4 separate regions of the Homo sapiens genome follow, and regions 1, 2 and 4 are each linked to region 3. The links are contacts of gene promoters, found by promoter capture Hi-C in human tissues and cell types (Jung and others, 2019). All regions are on one chromosome and are shown on one strand. Each heading gives the region's core, a stretch centred on a gene start or on the middle of the fragment in contact. The rest is flanking DNA. Distances are from core to core; before and after follow the strand shown. Region 1 has its middle 460 kb from the start of LINC01029. Region 2 has its middle 380 kb from the start of LINC01029. Region 3 holds the start of SALL3 (spalt like transcription factor 3). Region 4 has its middle 140 kb from the start of LINC01029.

The links. Contacts are between HindIII fragments. The study calls those that stand out against the background at their distance.
Region 1: a fragment that was not itself captured here is called in contact with the fragment with the promoter of SALL3 in region 3 in 4 of the 25 tissues and cell types used here (H1 embryonic stem cells, IMR-90 fibroblasts, mesendoderm cells and 1 more).
Region 2: a contact is called between a fragment that was not itself captured here and the fragment with the promoter of SALL3 in region 3, in 2 of the 25 tissues and cell types used here (H1 embryonic stem cells and lymphoblastoid cells).
Region 4: a contact is called between a fragment that was not itself captured here and the fragment with the promoter of SALL3 in region 3, in 4 of the 25 tissues and cell types used here (H1 embryonic stem cells, lymphoblastoid cells, mesendoderm cells and 1 more).

The regions. Positions count from the first base shown.
Region 1 is chr18:78,452,909-78,456,146 of GRCh38, reverse strand. No RefSeq gene overlaps it. Among named protein-coding and RNA genes, the nearest start is that of LINC01029, 460 kb to the right of the region's middle. The HindIII fragment of the contact is 5,065 bases long and covers 1-3,238 here.
Region 2 is chr18:78,375,672-78,379,078 of GRCh38, reverse strand. No RefSeq gene overlaps it. Among named protein-coding and RNA genes, the nearest start is that of LINC01029, 380 kb to the right of the region's middle. The HindIII fragment of the contact is 3,010 bases long and covers 653-3,407 here.
Region 3 is chr18:78,978,384-78,981,890 of GRCh38, reverse strand. It overlaps SALL3 (spalt like transcription factor 3), which reads right to left and starts at 2,073. Exons shown (of 3, transcript NM_171999.4): 1 at 1,535-2,073. The coding sequence starts at 1,616. It overlaps LINC01896 (long intergenic non-protein coding RNA 1896), which reads left to right and starts at 2,200. Exons shown (of 5, transcript NR_187297.1): 1 at 2,200-2,851; 2 at 3,153-3,428. RefSeq lists an enhancer at 1-656. The HindIII fragment of the contact is 21,440 bases long and covers 1-3,507 here.
Region 4 is chr18:78,129,531-78,132,773 of GRCh38, reverse strand. No RefSeq gene overlaps it. Among named protein-coding and RNA genes, the nearest start is that of LINC01029, 140 kb to the right of the region's middle. The HindIII fragment of the contact is 6,643 bases long and covers 1-3,243 here.

The DNA.
Region 1 (3,238 bases), core at 279-2,778, 530 kb after region 3:
AGTTAACTCAGACCTACCCCCTCTACTGTTAATTACCCGCAGAGAAAGGCAAATAAACTCATGTAGACCAGTATATTACTCTTCCTAAACATATTGGTAGAATAAAAATGCCTATGGAAACCATTGCAGGAAATGCTGAATGCTCGTTTTGTCTCTATCTGCTCTGTTAGATGTTGACTGACAAAGAGTGCAAGGCAAATCCTGTTAAAACATTAAATTAAAATGATAATGAATAGAGATGGTATAATTTTACACCAGAGCTGGAATGGCAATTAAGAATGTATTTTTAAAAATATTTTAAGAAAAAACAATCACACCAGTCACAGAAGAATTATTTTCATAGAGAGGTGGTGGTTGAAATATTAACTAAGATAAGGCGGCAAATGCCAGCTGAGATTTGAGGTTTCCCTTTGGGATCTAAGTGTGAGGACTACAGCAGCTCCCAAGGCTGGGTCTGATGACTTTCTGAGCATGTCGCTTCTACTGTTCCACCCTCTCCCAGGAAGTCTCAGCCAAAGCTGCTTTCTTGTCGCAGCCTGGACATAGGCAAATGTGCATTTAGAAAACGATGGATGCATTTATCAGATTCAAGCAAAGCTTGCTGATACAAATAAACGATTTCATACACTTTGCCCTTTAAACAAAAAGCACAGGCTGTCACAGTAATGTCTGTACTTTGTGTTGCTATTATTTTCAGATAGTAATTCACAACCCTCACAACCCTTCCTGGGGCCCTGAGGACTTGCACTCAGGAAAGACTCCAGGGGATGTGGATGCTTTGCTTCTAAGCCGCTTGATTTCGGTCTTCATAGGAGCTGAAGGCCTTAATTAGTGTAGCCATGGCTGCTCGGCAGACATGTGAAAGACGCCTGCATCTGCCTGCTGTCTAGTGTTAGCCACCAGAAGAAGAAGAGAATGCACGGGGTCCAAGTTGAAGTTTGGGGCTTGGGCTGACAGACGGCGTGGATGATTCTGATGTCATGGAAGGAGCCACTGATTTCAAGCCAGGCCAACTCTCCAAGAACTAACTCCCAAAGATGCCCCATCCTCATGCCCCCATGCACAAGAAATTAATCTGTATATTTTATGTTCTTTAGAAATTTCTCAAATAACATAAAGGATGCATACCACATTATTTATAATTCCCTCAGATACATTAGGTAAACTGATTATGTATCAAAGAGTCTTCCCATTGGTTTATTTTTCTTACCTACAAAATGAGAGTAAGCATTCTTCTCCATAGACTCCATAAGAAAATTGTAAGAATCGTATGAATTAATGCCTGAAAACAAGTAATGTATGACACAGTGTTATCTAGATAACAGTAATCATCGCCACCAGAACTGTCATCCTGCAGACAGAATATAGCTTGGAACACACACACAGCTGTCTTCGTACTCCCATCTGTAGAAATTTGCCTTTTTTTCCATCAAAATGTTCATCGAAGTGTGTTGTATTTTTTCATCATCAATCTCTTTGGAGTGCCCAATCAATAACTAATACAAAGACAGTTGTTTTTGAAGACTCAATACAGCACAGAAGAAAAATGCCCATTAGTGAATATTGCATCAGAGCTGAGAGGTCATTGAGCTGAAATGTCGGAAAGGGATTCAGGGAACTCGAGGGTCTGTGGTTGTGCTCCTGTGGGTCCTGGGTGACAGGATTTCCCGAACAATGTCTGTGAAGGGAAAGGTCAACTTGCGGCGAGACAGAGGACTTGTTGGCAGGGAGAATGCGCAGAGGCTAAGGAGAGGCGGCTGTCCAGCTGTCCTCCGTAAGGACTCAGCATGTAAGCAGTTTTTCTCTTGACTTTTCCAGACTTTTGGACCCAAGTCTTATGCTTCCTTTAGTAATTTTGTAATTCTTGCTTCGTTGTGCCTCAACTGCAGTGGTACATAGAAACTGACAGGTGTGTTGTGGGCTTAAAAAAGAAGCAATTAATAATATATATGTAGCATGTTTATAAATTCTTGTTTCCTGAGCAATTTGTTCAAGCTAATAGTTGGGGGCGGGGGTGGGTGGGTATTAAATTAGAAGGTATTGCCAGTCCTCGTTGACAGTTTAAATTGCAGGGGTTTTATGGAAACTGCGCAACGGCATTCCAAATTGACCACTTCCCCAGCCAGTGGACGGGCCACGGTCAGGCACATGTGCAGTGCCCAGTCTGCACTCTGCCTGGATTCATCTCATTGAATCAACTCAACTCATAAATCCATGTAACTATGTGCTGATTTATTTTTGCGATGCTCTCCTCCCCTGGGGGCTGCCTGGGAAGGTGGCGTGTGGTCTTCCTCCCATGAGCTGAGGGCCTGGCATGCACGGTGCCTCGTGCTCAACAGCAGACGTTTGACCCCCTAGAAGATCTACCACACACCTGGCTGTGGACAGAACTGCCCCCTGCCTGCATGCTCTCCTGCTGGTGGAACTCATTCCAGCCCAGCACTGACCTCCAGACTCCAGCTATTACAATGCCGTATTATCAGTATTATCTCCTAAGAGGACAATGTTTTTTAAGTTTTAAAAGGAGTCCTATTTTGTTACTGAGAAGCATTAACACAAATACATGAATTAGAATTTTCTATCTTTGTAACTCAATCATGAAAAAGCTTGTATGATACATCTGGATTGGCAATGAAAATGTATCTTTTTCTGGGTATTGGAGCATTGTTTCTTTATACCAAAATAATTCTTCACGCATTATCCTAAGATTTCTTTTTTTTTTTTTTTTTTTTTTTTTTTTTTTTTTTTTTTGAGACGGAGTCTCGCTCTGTCGCCCAGGCCGGACTGCGGACTGCAGTGGCGCAATCTCGGCTCACTGCAAGCTCCGCTTCCCGGGTTCACGCCATTCTCCTGCCTCAGCCTCCCGAGTAGCTGGGACTACAGGCGCCCGCCACCGCGCCCGGCTAATTTTTTGTATTTTTAGTAGAGACGGGGTTTCACCTTGTTAGCCAGGATGGTCTCGATCTCCTGACCTCATGATCCACCCGCCTCGGCCTCCCAAAGTGCTGGAAGATTTCTTTTTAATTGTCAGAAAGAAAATATGCACAACATAATTTCATCTTATCTGATAGCACAACAGAAGAGGAAAGGATGTTTTTTTTCCTCATAGGAAAACACACATGTCTGTGGACTCTCTCTTAGGAGGGTCTGGATGGTTTTCACGGCTCCTTCATTTTCATACGATGAAAGGAGTTTTCCTCCAGCCACCTTACCCTTCTGTATATGAGTCTGTTTATAG
Region 2 (3,407 bases), core at 908-3,407, 600 kb after region 3:
TAAAGGGAATATTTTCCTAGAGTTCTTTATTTTTGTTGCATCAACAAGTTTTGGTTGACACGACACAGGATGAATGGAAGGAAAATCCCTGCTTTCAAGGTGCTTACTACTTAAAGGCGTAAAGCTGTAAGAAATGCATGCACTCAGAATAAAAGAATTCATCCCTATCGCCCATAATACCTTAAGTTTCTAATTAGACCTTTCAGACCTACAGTTAACGTGCCCAGGATGTGAAATGTGTTTAAGTTAATGTTACAGTGAGATCATTGGCATTTGCATTTACTGACATTTTGTGCTTAAATTTGTAATCTGAACTTTGCTTTAACAAGTTTTTATGTTTAATTTCTTCTCCATCTTTTGAAATAACAGAAAGAAACTGACAGTGCTTGACAGTGTTTGCTTTTAAATTGCCTGTGTGGGCTGTGGCGTTCCCACCTCATGGCGTTGAATAGACTGAGGAAGGAAAACCCACTGTTTGCCGCTCCTGCCTTCCTGCCGCTCCTGCCTTCCTGCCGCTCCTGCCTTCCTGCAGCTCCTGCCTTCCTGCAGCAGGAGGTGGTTTTCTGCCCGGCTACCTTCTGAGCAGCACATTGGATTTTGTTCTGTTGTCTGGAATTGTGCAACTGAAAAAACATGAAGACTACGTTTCTAAAAAGTTTTGGTTTGATAGAAAGGATGATAGTGCAAACATTGTGGTGAAGGTATTAAGATAGCATGTCTTCCCTTGATAAAAAAAATTTAAAAATTATAGAAAATGTGTTTAATTTCTGTCCAACTAAGGGTGGATTGAATTGGATCAGACCAAAGTATCTGAACCCATCACACACCCTGTATTATTAAAATTCTAACAACAGCGTGTGAGCAACCAAACTTAAGAAGAGGCCAATGGATGCAGTAAGACTGAACCTCCTGGTCAGGCTGCCTCGGCTCTTTTTAGCTGTTAGAGCTCTTCAGCCAAGCAACGTGCCATGGATCCCTGGAGCAGGGGTCTGGGGCTGCCTGGGTCTAACAGGCTCTGGGGGCCCTGAGCACCCACAGGTGCAGCTGTCCCCTGCTCTTCTCAGAGCCATTGTCTGTTGAGCCCACAACACATCTCCTTTGTGTTCCTGCAGCATTTCTTCCTCCTCTCCATCTCATCTTTTCCTCTCCATGTAACCCCACATACTGGGTGCTGCAGAGCAGGGAGGGAGAAGGAAGGATGGGGAGGGGGAGGGGGGAACACACTTCTTTGACGCTGCCCCCTCTGAGTTTGGCCACGTGACAGTTACTACCCACAGCCCTGGCCTCCCCCTGCTGCCCAACCACCAGCACCCAGGACACCACCCAGCATCTTCTATTGGCTCTCCAGGATCCTGAGGCAGGATGCAGATTTGAAATCAGGGCAAGACAGGAGTGAGGAGGGATAAAGATGTTTGTGCAGTTTAAGGGGCTTGCTGTGCTTGGCATAATACTGCCTATGCTCCAGACAGAGATTTTGCAAACCGTATCTGAATGCTCTTAGAAAGGGCTATGAATTTCTAGACGTAGGAAGCTGATAGGTGTCTCCCTGCAATGTAGCCACTGGGGCTGATGAACCTGTATTTCACTGAAACCACGCTCCAGGGAACCAACATCAGCCTGGAGGCTTTCATTGCCATAGATTTACTTCTTTTGCTATTTTGTCCTTAACACATTTTCCTCTTAAAATCTACAATTGTTTCCACTTTTTGCTTTTTTTTTTTTTTGGAGACCTCAAACAAGCCCTCTGTGAACTAATGGAAGGAAGGCTGGCTCTGACTGCATAGGCCCAAGTTCAAGTGCTCTTCAACGTGTGACCTTGGAGAAGTTTAAGTTCTGTGACCTCAACATTCCTTACTGGGGCAAGGGAATAATAGTGACTCTTTTCCTATGGTGAGACTCTAGGGAGATACAATATTAACAGAGCTTATAGTTTACCAACTTGAAGCTTCTACCTTTCCATACCATTTATATCATCAGATAGAACTGTCAGAAGCTATTATTTGTGACAGCTAACAACTCTCAGGCCCTGTTGTGAAAGCTTTGAGCTAATTTTGATCCATTTTGTTTTACAAAACCCCATGGGGCAGAGGCTGGATTTGAACCCACATCCTCTGTACCCAGTTGACATTGTTGCCTGCTTCCGATCCTTTTCTGCTTTAACTTGTAGATAAGACATGGCCCATTTAGGCAGGTGTGGCGTTCTTCGGGACAGAAAGTTACTTACCATAAAGGACTTTGTTAAATTAAAGCTGCTGTGAATGACTTCTGTGGCCATTCAACTGTTCTGTGGGTCACTGTAGGCTTGAATTTCACATTTGAGAAGAGAAGGCACATGAGGAAGGAAGACCCTGCATTTACATTGATCAGGGCTGTGCAATCGGGAGCTCTGTCTCCATGCTCTTATTTAATGCTTAGAGCATTTTACAGGTAAGAACGGCAGTGGAGCCAGGAGCACAGCTGGCGGGCTGCTGAAAGCGCTGGAGCCAGGTTTAGAAGCCTTGTCCTGGCCCTTTGCCTCATGCCAGCCTCCCTCCGTGGAAGGAACGTTGGAGATATTTTTTCCACAAATATGAAAACTTGGGCCACAAAATGTTAAGTAGCTTGTACATTAACACATCTACATCAGAGCTAAATTATTGCATTAAACTATCTAATTATGTATAAACATTGATACTATGTATCTGATGAAAAAATTCCCCCTTATTTTTAAAAAACAGATTTTTTTCTTGGTTTTCCTTTTTAATTAGGAAGATGCACAAATGCCCAGACACCAGCTCTGGTTGCAGTGGGAGCACCAGCTGAACGTGTCTAGGTGGCTGGGTGGTTGCCATGGAAACGCACCAGGGAGGAGGGAAGAGGCCTCCGAGCCGGGGACCAGAAGCTGAGCGGGCCACATTGCCCTCGTCCACCAAGGCCGGGCCTGGGCTGTACCCAGGGGTAGGAGTTCTCAGCTTCCTCGTGGACCTGGATGTCATTCCCTGCAACTGCAAAAACACACTTTACCACAAAGAAGTGATTGATGGGATTTTCAGACCCGGTTTCTGTAACAATTTGGAAGTGACTGGGTGTATTTAGTCAAAGGTGCTTTCAAAAATATTCATCCAATTTTGACTGGATTGGCCCTTAATATTGATGTTCATTTCACTTTCTTTTTTATCAACTTAACACAGATTATTAGACACAGAAATTGCGTGAAATCACTCCGATGGTGAGAGGTGCCTCACTGTGAAAATGCTGATCACAATTAGTCAACTTTCTGTATCCAGCATGAAGTTATCATGGAAACATCAACATCAGTTCCTGCCTCATCTCACCTTTTTCTTTTTCCCTAAAAGTTTCTGTGGCAACGTTGCCATAGGAAAATATTAGGGTCTGATTTGTTCATTTTCTTTTGAGATACCCAGTTG
Region 3 (3,507 bases), core at 824-3,323:
AGACTGTCTTTCTCATTCGGCAGAAATAAATCCATTCATTTGATCATGTAGTCATTGAGGGCGATACAAAACAAACCAAGTGTGAGAAATTCTATGTGATGAAGTAAACAAAACAAAAAAAAATCCATTTCCATGACAAAAAGATTCTTTGTCCTTAATCTACCCACCATATGCAAGCGTTTCTTTTTAGCATATCGCCTGTTCTCATCTTGGCTGACTTGGCTACACAGATAAGACTCCCTTACCTCCACCGCAACAAAAAGACCCCAGCGAGCTCACTAATTTTATTTAATTCATTAATTCTCCAGCCGCGTCATAAGCATGCTCTCTCGTTCTCATCCGACATGGGTGTCTACCCGCTTTGTCAAACTTTACTCCACTGTGTGGGAAACTCTTCCGCCCCGTTTCCTTTTCGCAGACAGTCTCATTCTCAGAGTAAAAAGATCACCATCTGCCTCCAACAACTTATAACAGGTCAATCATAAAAGTTGGCCTGCCTGTTTTTTTAAGGAGCAAATTATTTTACTGCGAGCTGTGCTGCGGGCTCGGGGTCGTGGGGTCGCCCCTCCTCGGCCCTCTTTCCTGGCGCCCTGGGGGCCCCGCGGGGCGCGCCGAAGCCCGGGCGCCGCCGGCCGAGGTTTTGACTCGACGAAGGGGGTGGGGGCGCCCCAAACTTTGCGGGGCTAAGGCGCCACTCTGGGAAGTCCAGCCCTTTGCCAGTCTCTTAACTTTCGCGGCGCCTGCCCTTTGCTCTTGGATGTTTCGAAGAGGACGCTCCTACCAGCGAAATGACTGCAAAGCCGAGGTCTCCAGCGCCCGGCCTCGGCGGATCCAAAAAGACGGGAGAGAAAAGGCCCGCGCAGACGCTGCAACGAACGCCCCGGAAACACGCCGCGAGCAGGGGCCAGGCCCAGGCCGCCGCCGCTGCGCTCACCCCCAGCTTAATTCCCCGGGCGGCCATTAGGCAGAGCCAAGCCCCCGACCTTCTCCTCGCCTCGCGAGGGATCACAGGCTGCGTCAACGCGCTGGGACACCGCGGGTCACCCGAGGCGGTGCGGGGGCCCGGGAGGGGCCGCGGGCCCCCGAACAAAGCTGGCCGGGCGGCGGGGTCCCCAACCCGCGTCCAGCGGTAGGTGGGCTGCGGTCGCCTTCCCCGCCGCCGCCGGCCTCAGCGTCCTGGCGCAGAGACCCTGGGGGGCGGCGCGGCGGCGGAGGCACCGTGGACTCCCTCCCGCCCCGGCCTCCGAGCCGTCCTCGAGCCGGCCGCGGCCTCGGCGCCCTTCGCGGGCAGCTCCCCGACTCCGAGGAGAGGAGCCAAGTTTACTTCGCCCACAACTCTCTCGGCGGCCGCGCGCGCTCCGGCGAAGTACCCGGGGCCCCGCGGCCGGCCTGGCGCGGGGCGGACGCTTGCCCGCAGGAAGCAGGGAACTTTCTCCCGCTCCCGGACGCGCGCATCCGCTCCCGCCGCACGCGCTTCCCCAGCCCGGACGGGCAGCCCCAGACCCCCCGGCCACCCCGCAGCCCCGGCCCTCACCGTGCTCGGGAGCCCCGTCAGGCGGCAGCAGCTCCTCGTCCGACTTGAGGTGCTGGGGCTTGGCCTGCTTGCGCCGAGACATGCTGCTAGCGGCGCTCGGGCCCCGCGCGGGGCAGCGGCATCAGCGGGGCGGCCGGCGGGGACGGCGCGGGGCGGCCTGGCGGGCGCGCGGCGCGGGGCGCGGGGCGGCGGCGGCTGCGCGGGCCGCGCATGGGGCTGAGCAATTAGGCTGGTGAATAATGCATGGCCATTAGCGGAGGGCCGCGCCGATTGGCCGGGCTCCAGCGGACTCCGGCGGCCTATGCAAATGAGGCCGCGCTCGCAATTAGCGGCCGCGCCGACGAGGAGGGGGCCGCGGCGCCTCGGGACCGGGGCGCGCGCTGCCCGGCGCCGCCTCACATCGCGGGCTCCGGCGCCGCGCTCCTCGGCCGCCCCGGGTGCGGCTGTGGCGGGGCCCGGGTGCGGCGCGGGCCGCGGTGGCCGTCCCTCCGCAGGGCGCAGGCAGCAAACTTTGGCGGCGTCCGCGCGGCGCCGTCTCCGCCGGCGCGCCGGGCTCGCCCCTTTATAGAGTGTCTGCGCCGCCGCCCGCGCCCCCCCCGCCGCCGCCGCCGGGCGGCCCCTCCCGGAGCGAGCGGCCGCGGGCAGGGCTCCGACCCGGCGCCTTTGTCTCGCCCGGGCCGCTCGGGCGCCGCGCCTCCTGTTCCGGGCGCGCGGGGTCGGCCGGCCGCCTTCGCTGCTCCGCCGCGGCTCTCAGCGCCGCTCAGCGCGGCGGGCCCGCCCGGGCTCAGGTGCCCCCCGCTCTCCGGACCTTCTCGCCCGGCCCCGCGTCCCCTCCGCGGGCTTCCCCCGGCGGCCGGCCGGGCTCGGAGGCTCGCGGCCGGAGCGGAGCGGAGTGCGCACGCCGGGGTGGCAGGACTTCGGCAAGACCAACTTTCCGGTTCGGAAGCGGCGCGGGCCGCGCGGCTCCTCCCCTCCTCTCCCTCCCCTGCGTTCCCCCTCCCTTCCACTCCCCCCTCTCCCCGCCCCCCAACCCGCGGGCCCCACCGACTCCGGAGCGCCCGCCCCGCCCGCTGCTGCCACCGGGCCGCCTCGCCCCCGCGCCAGCCCGCCTGGGCCTCTGCGCCGCCGGCGGCTTCTTAAATACAGGAAAGGGAGGGGACCGCAGGGCCCCGGTGTTCCCCACCCTAGTCCCCCTTCACCACGGGCCACCGGGCGCCAGCGGAGTGGGCAGCGAGCGCGACCGAAAGTTCCAACTCCACCAAACTCCCGCGCGCGGCCCACCCTTTCCCGGGATTTCGGGGATGACACGGGGGCCAGGTGAGGGGGCTGCGCACTTCTGGATCGGCCCCACACACTCGGCCCCTGGCGCGGCGCGCTCCCCGCACACGCGCCCGCCCCCTCCCCGCGGTCACACGCACGCGCCCTCGCCCTCGCCCCGCGCGCACAGGCGCGTACTCCCACCCGCGGCCGTGCACCCGCCGCGCTCCTTCCCGCGCGTGTCCTCTCTCCCCGAGCGGCCGCCAGGATGTGCCCCCGGCCCCGTCGTCGCCGCGCCCGCGCCCCTCGCCCCAGTACGTCTTTTTTCGTTTCCTAAATTTCTTATTTTTGTCCTTGCAAGTGGTCCTGTCTGGTGTGAACCGTCAGCACAGATGGCCTCCTGGAGCTTCCCCGAGTCGTTCGCTGGGGGAAGCGGGCGGTGAGCGGCCAGCCCGGGCGCTCCGCAGGCCGCGAGCTCCCGGCAGGGCTGGTGGCGGGGGTCCGCCTGGGGGAGGAATCCCCGCCTGCTCCATCGGACCCGGCCTGGCGCGGCTCGCGGCGCTCGGCGGGCTCCCTTCCATTCTAGAATCTTCCCGCTTGCTTCCCAGCCCGCGTTCTTCCGCCTGCCTTTAATTGTGTAAGTTTGACGAAGTCAGAGCTTTGGGTTCCAGGAAAAGCGCAGGAGGGTCATAGAGGAAGGGAGGGCGCAGGTTGGA
Region 4 (3,243 bases), core at 231-2,730, 850 kb after region 3:
ATAGAAAGACTCATCAGAATTTTTATAATCTCTTCTTTCGAAACCAATCATTTTCAAATCATATCTCCAGAGTCTCTCAAGAAGAAAATTATTTTAGGTCAATTAGCTTCTTTTTACTTTAATATTGAACACACACACACACACACACACACACACACACACACAAACATAGCTTAATAAGAATAGACCCAATTCTGCAGGCACTTAAAACATCAGTTTGAGTATTTAAGATGAAATCCAAAAGGAATGCAACAGTTTGCCTAGGCAGAGGTCAATCTTTGAAGGAAGTCATTTCTTAAATCTGAATATTTAATAAACAAGGCAAATGATTAAAATGTTTTAGATGTCAATTTCTGCTGGGGGGAAAAGTACCTTATATAACCTATAGAATACTTTCTGGAACACTGCTTGAGAAGAAGAAGGTAGCATTTCTGGAGCACACAAGATTCTACATACACGTGAGATACATTCTTAAGTATTTTTACTGATGTGGAAAATCAGACTCAACGAGGTTTAATAATTTGCTCAACATCGAGTGAGGGGTGAGGTTCAGATTCAAAGGGGTCCTTTCATCTGAAAAGCCTCTTCCTTTCTGTTCTATGTACCACCTAGTTAATTTCAACATTTTTGTCGTGTGTGTGAAGGTTTTCGTGCATACTGATAGCTGTAATTTGCTCTGAATATTCTAGATGTCTGACACTGGGCTAAGTGTTTGTCATAAACTTTCTTTTACCTTCATCGAAACCTTCAGGTAAAGACAACAGTATTAATCCACTTTGTTACATAAACAAAACAAAAATGCGATCTCGCCTGAGCTCAAGTTCAGCATCAATTAAGAGGAAGAGGAAGGGCTCCACCCCATCAGTTGGATGCGGGAGCCCCGACTGTGTGTGCCCGGAACTCTCTGCCCTCTGGACTCCACCGGGAGACGTTCTGGGGTCTGAGAAAGTGAAGGAGGCAAAGCTAAGTGTTCGCATGCACCTCTGCTTTCTTGAGGGTTCAAAGCTCCAGAGAGCTCGGTGCCTGCCACAGGCCAGGGCCGATGTCCTCTGGTCATCACGCCGTGGTCAGGACAAGCACTCTCTGCCCGTGGTTATCTGGAGGGAAGGCCAGCCTCAAGAGACGCCCGCCTTGCGAGACCTTCACCCCTGACCCTCCCTTAAACCCGGCTCCCTTGCTGGACCTCAGACTCCGCTCTGGAGACATGCTTTATTGCTTTATTTGTTTCTAATTTAGACCAAAGACCCTGCCTGGCCTTCTGTGATGGTTTTGTCCAGTTGGGCATTTTTGTTCTCACCGTGGCTGCTTACTTTTACTGCTTTATCTTTGCCTTTTTATTGAGTGATTTTTTTTTTGTTTATTTTACCTTGTTTGTTTGTTTCTCTTGTACCTATAACTTTTTCATAGGGAAGAAGAAGTGACAGGTGAAGATGAGAAGGTGGCCTCCGGCATCCAAGGGAGGCTCAGCATCACGTCCTCTGTATGGTTAGGGCAGAAGAGCATCAGTCCTTTGCTCACCCAGAGCGGGTCCTGCACAGCCCCTCGTGTAGCCCCACTGGAAACGCTGCCCACTGAAGGGATTCTGGAAATTTCACAGCAAATGCATACTGGCATCATTTATGCCTGCCTTGGAGCCATATTTCCCTTATCATCAGAGGTGAGTCCAAAGGGCTTACTCCAACATGGGAGGTTCTGCCCAGCACAAACTCTGCTTACCTGTTAAGCCCCGCTCCACCTCTCATACACAAGCCCTCTGCAGCAGCCTGGCCAGCGTGTTCCCGAATCCACCTGGGCATGAGCACTCACACTCTCTGTCTTTCATACACAAACTCTCTGCGGCAGCTGAGCCAATGCATTCCTGAATCCACCTGGGTGTGCACACCCACACTATCTGCTTCTCATACACAAGCCCTCTGAGGCAGCCAGGCCAGTGTGTTCCCAAATCCACCTGTGTGTGCACACTCACACTCTCCACCTCTCATACACAAGCCTTCTGAGGCAGCCAAGCCAGTGCATTCCCGAATCCAGCTGGGTGTGCACACTCACACTCTCTGTCTCTCACACACAAACCCTCTGTGGCAGCCGAGCCAGTGCGTTCCTGGCTCCACCTGGGCATGTGCACTCAGCCTTCTCTGTCTTTGCTCATGGGAGATTGTGCCGTGACCGTGTCCAGCTCTCTCTGCTCATCTGTCCTCCCACCTCACTCCTCCTCTGTGTCGTGCACCTCTCAGGACACCTGCTCCCACACCAAGCCTTGGGTCTGACAGCTTTTTGGAGCTCACATGTGCCAGTTTTTAATCTCTGCTTTCATGCATATGTTCATGTAACTGTCAGAATCTACGTCTGCAACCCACTTCCTCCCCACAGGGTTTCACTGACTTACTAAAGCTTATCACATGTTCAATAAGAAAAATGCATGGATAGTCGAGACCACAAAAAGGAAAAAATAAAGCTTATCTGGAAGACAATTTAATCATCACTCTGAAGGGTCAACTTTAGTTCAGAATTTCCTGTGATCCAAGGCAAAAAATCTAAACATAAGTTTTCCAGAATCAATCATCAGGAGGAAGGGATTGTGTGTGTTCTGAAAAGCCCGTGTCTAATGCTACCCATAGACTGTGGTACACACAGTTCAGCCAATGCCATTGTACACACATCTAACCTATGCCTGCTGACATTAGCAATGGGAATTTGGGGCAGTCACTGGCTCTATTTGAAATGCCAGGACATACTCCTGCCCTGTTCTGTCCCGAGGGGTGAGACGGGATTCTCGAAGTTCACTGAAGCCACTCTATTTCTGTCTGCATTGACCTCACTGACCAAACATAAATATTTTATCCCACTCTCCAAGCAGCCTTGGCTTTCCTGAGTTCCTGTCTGAATTGAGAGCATAACTTTGGGATAGGTTTGCCATGTAAGGAAGAAACCACGTTGATCCTGACAGTTGAAAATTGCCTCGTACGTGAGTGTGAGCTTTGGCACCTGTGATGATTTAATGGGTATATCAGATGCCCACGCCTGCCACAACAAATTACCACAAAATGAGTGGCTTAAAAGAACACGAATTTATTCTTTCATAGTGTGATATGGTTCAGATATCTGTCCCACCCCAATCTCAGGTTGAATTGTGATTCTCAGTATTAGAGGTGGGGTCTGGTGGGAGGTGACTGGCCCACAGGGGTGGATTTCTCATGAATGCTTTTGTGCCACCCCCCCCCCAACCCCCGGTGCTGTCCTCACGAT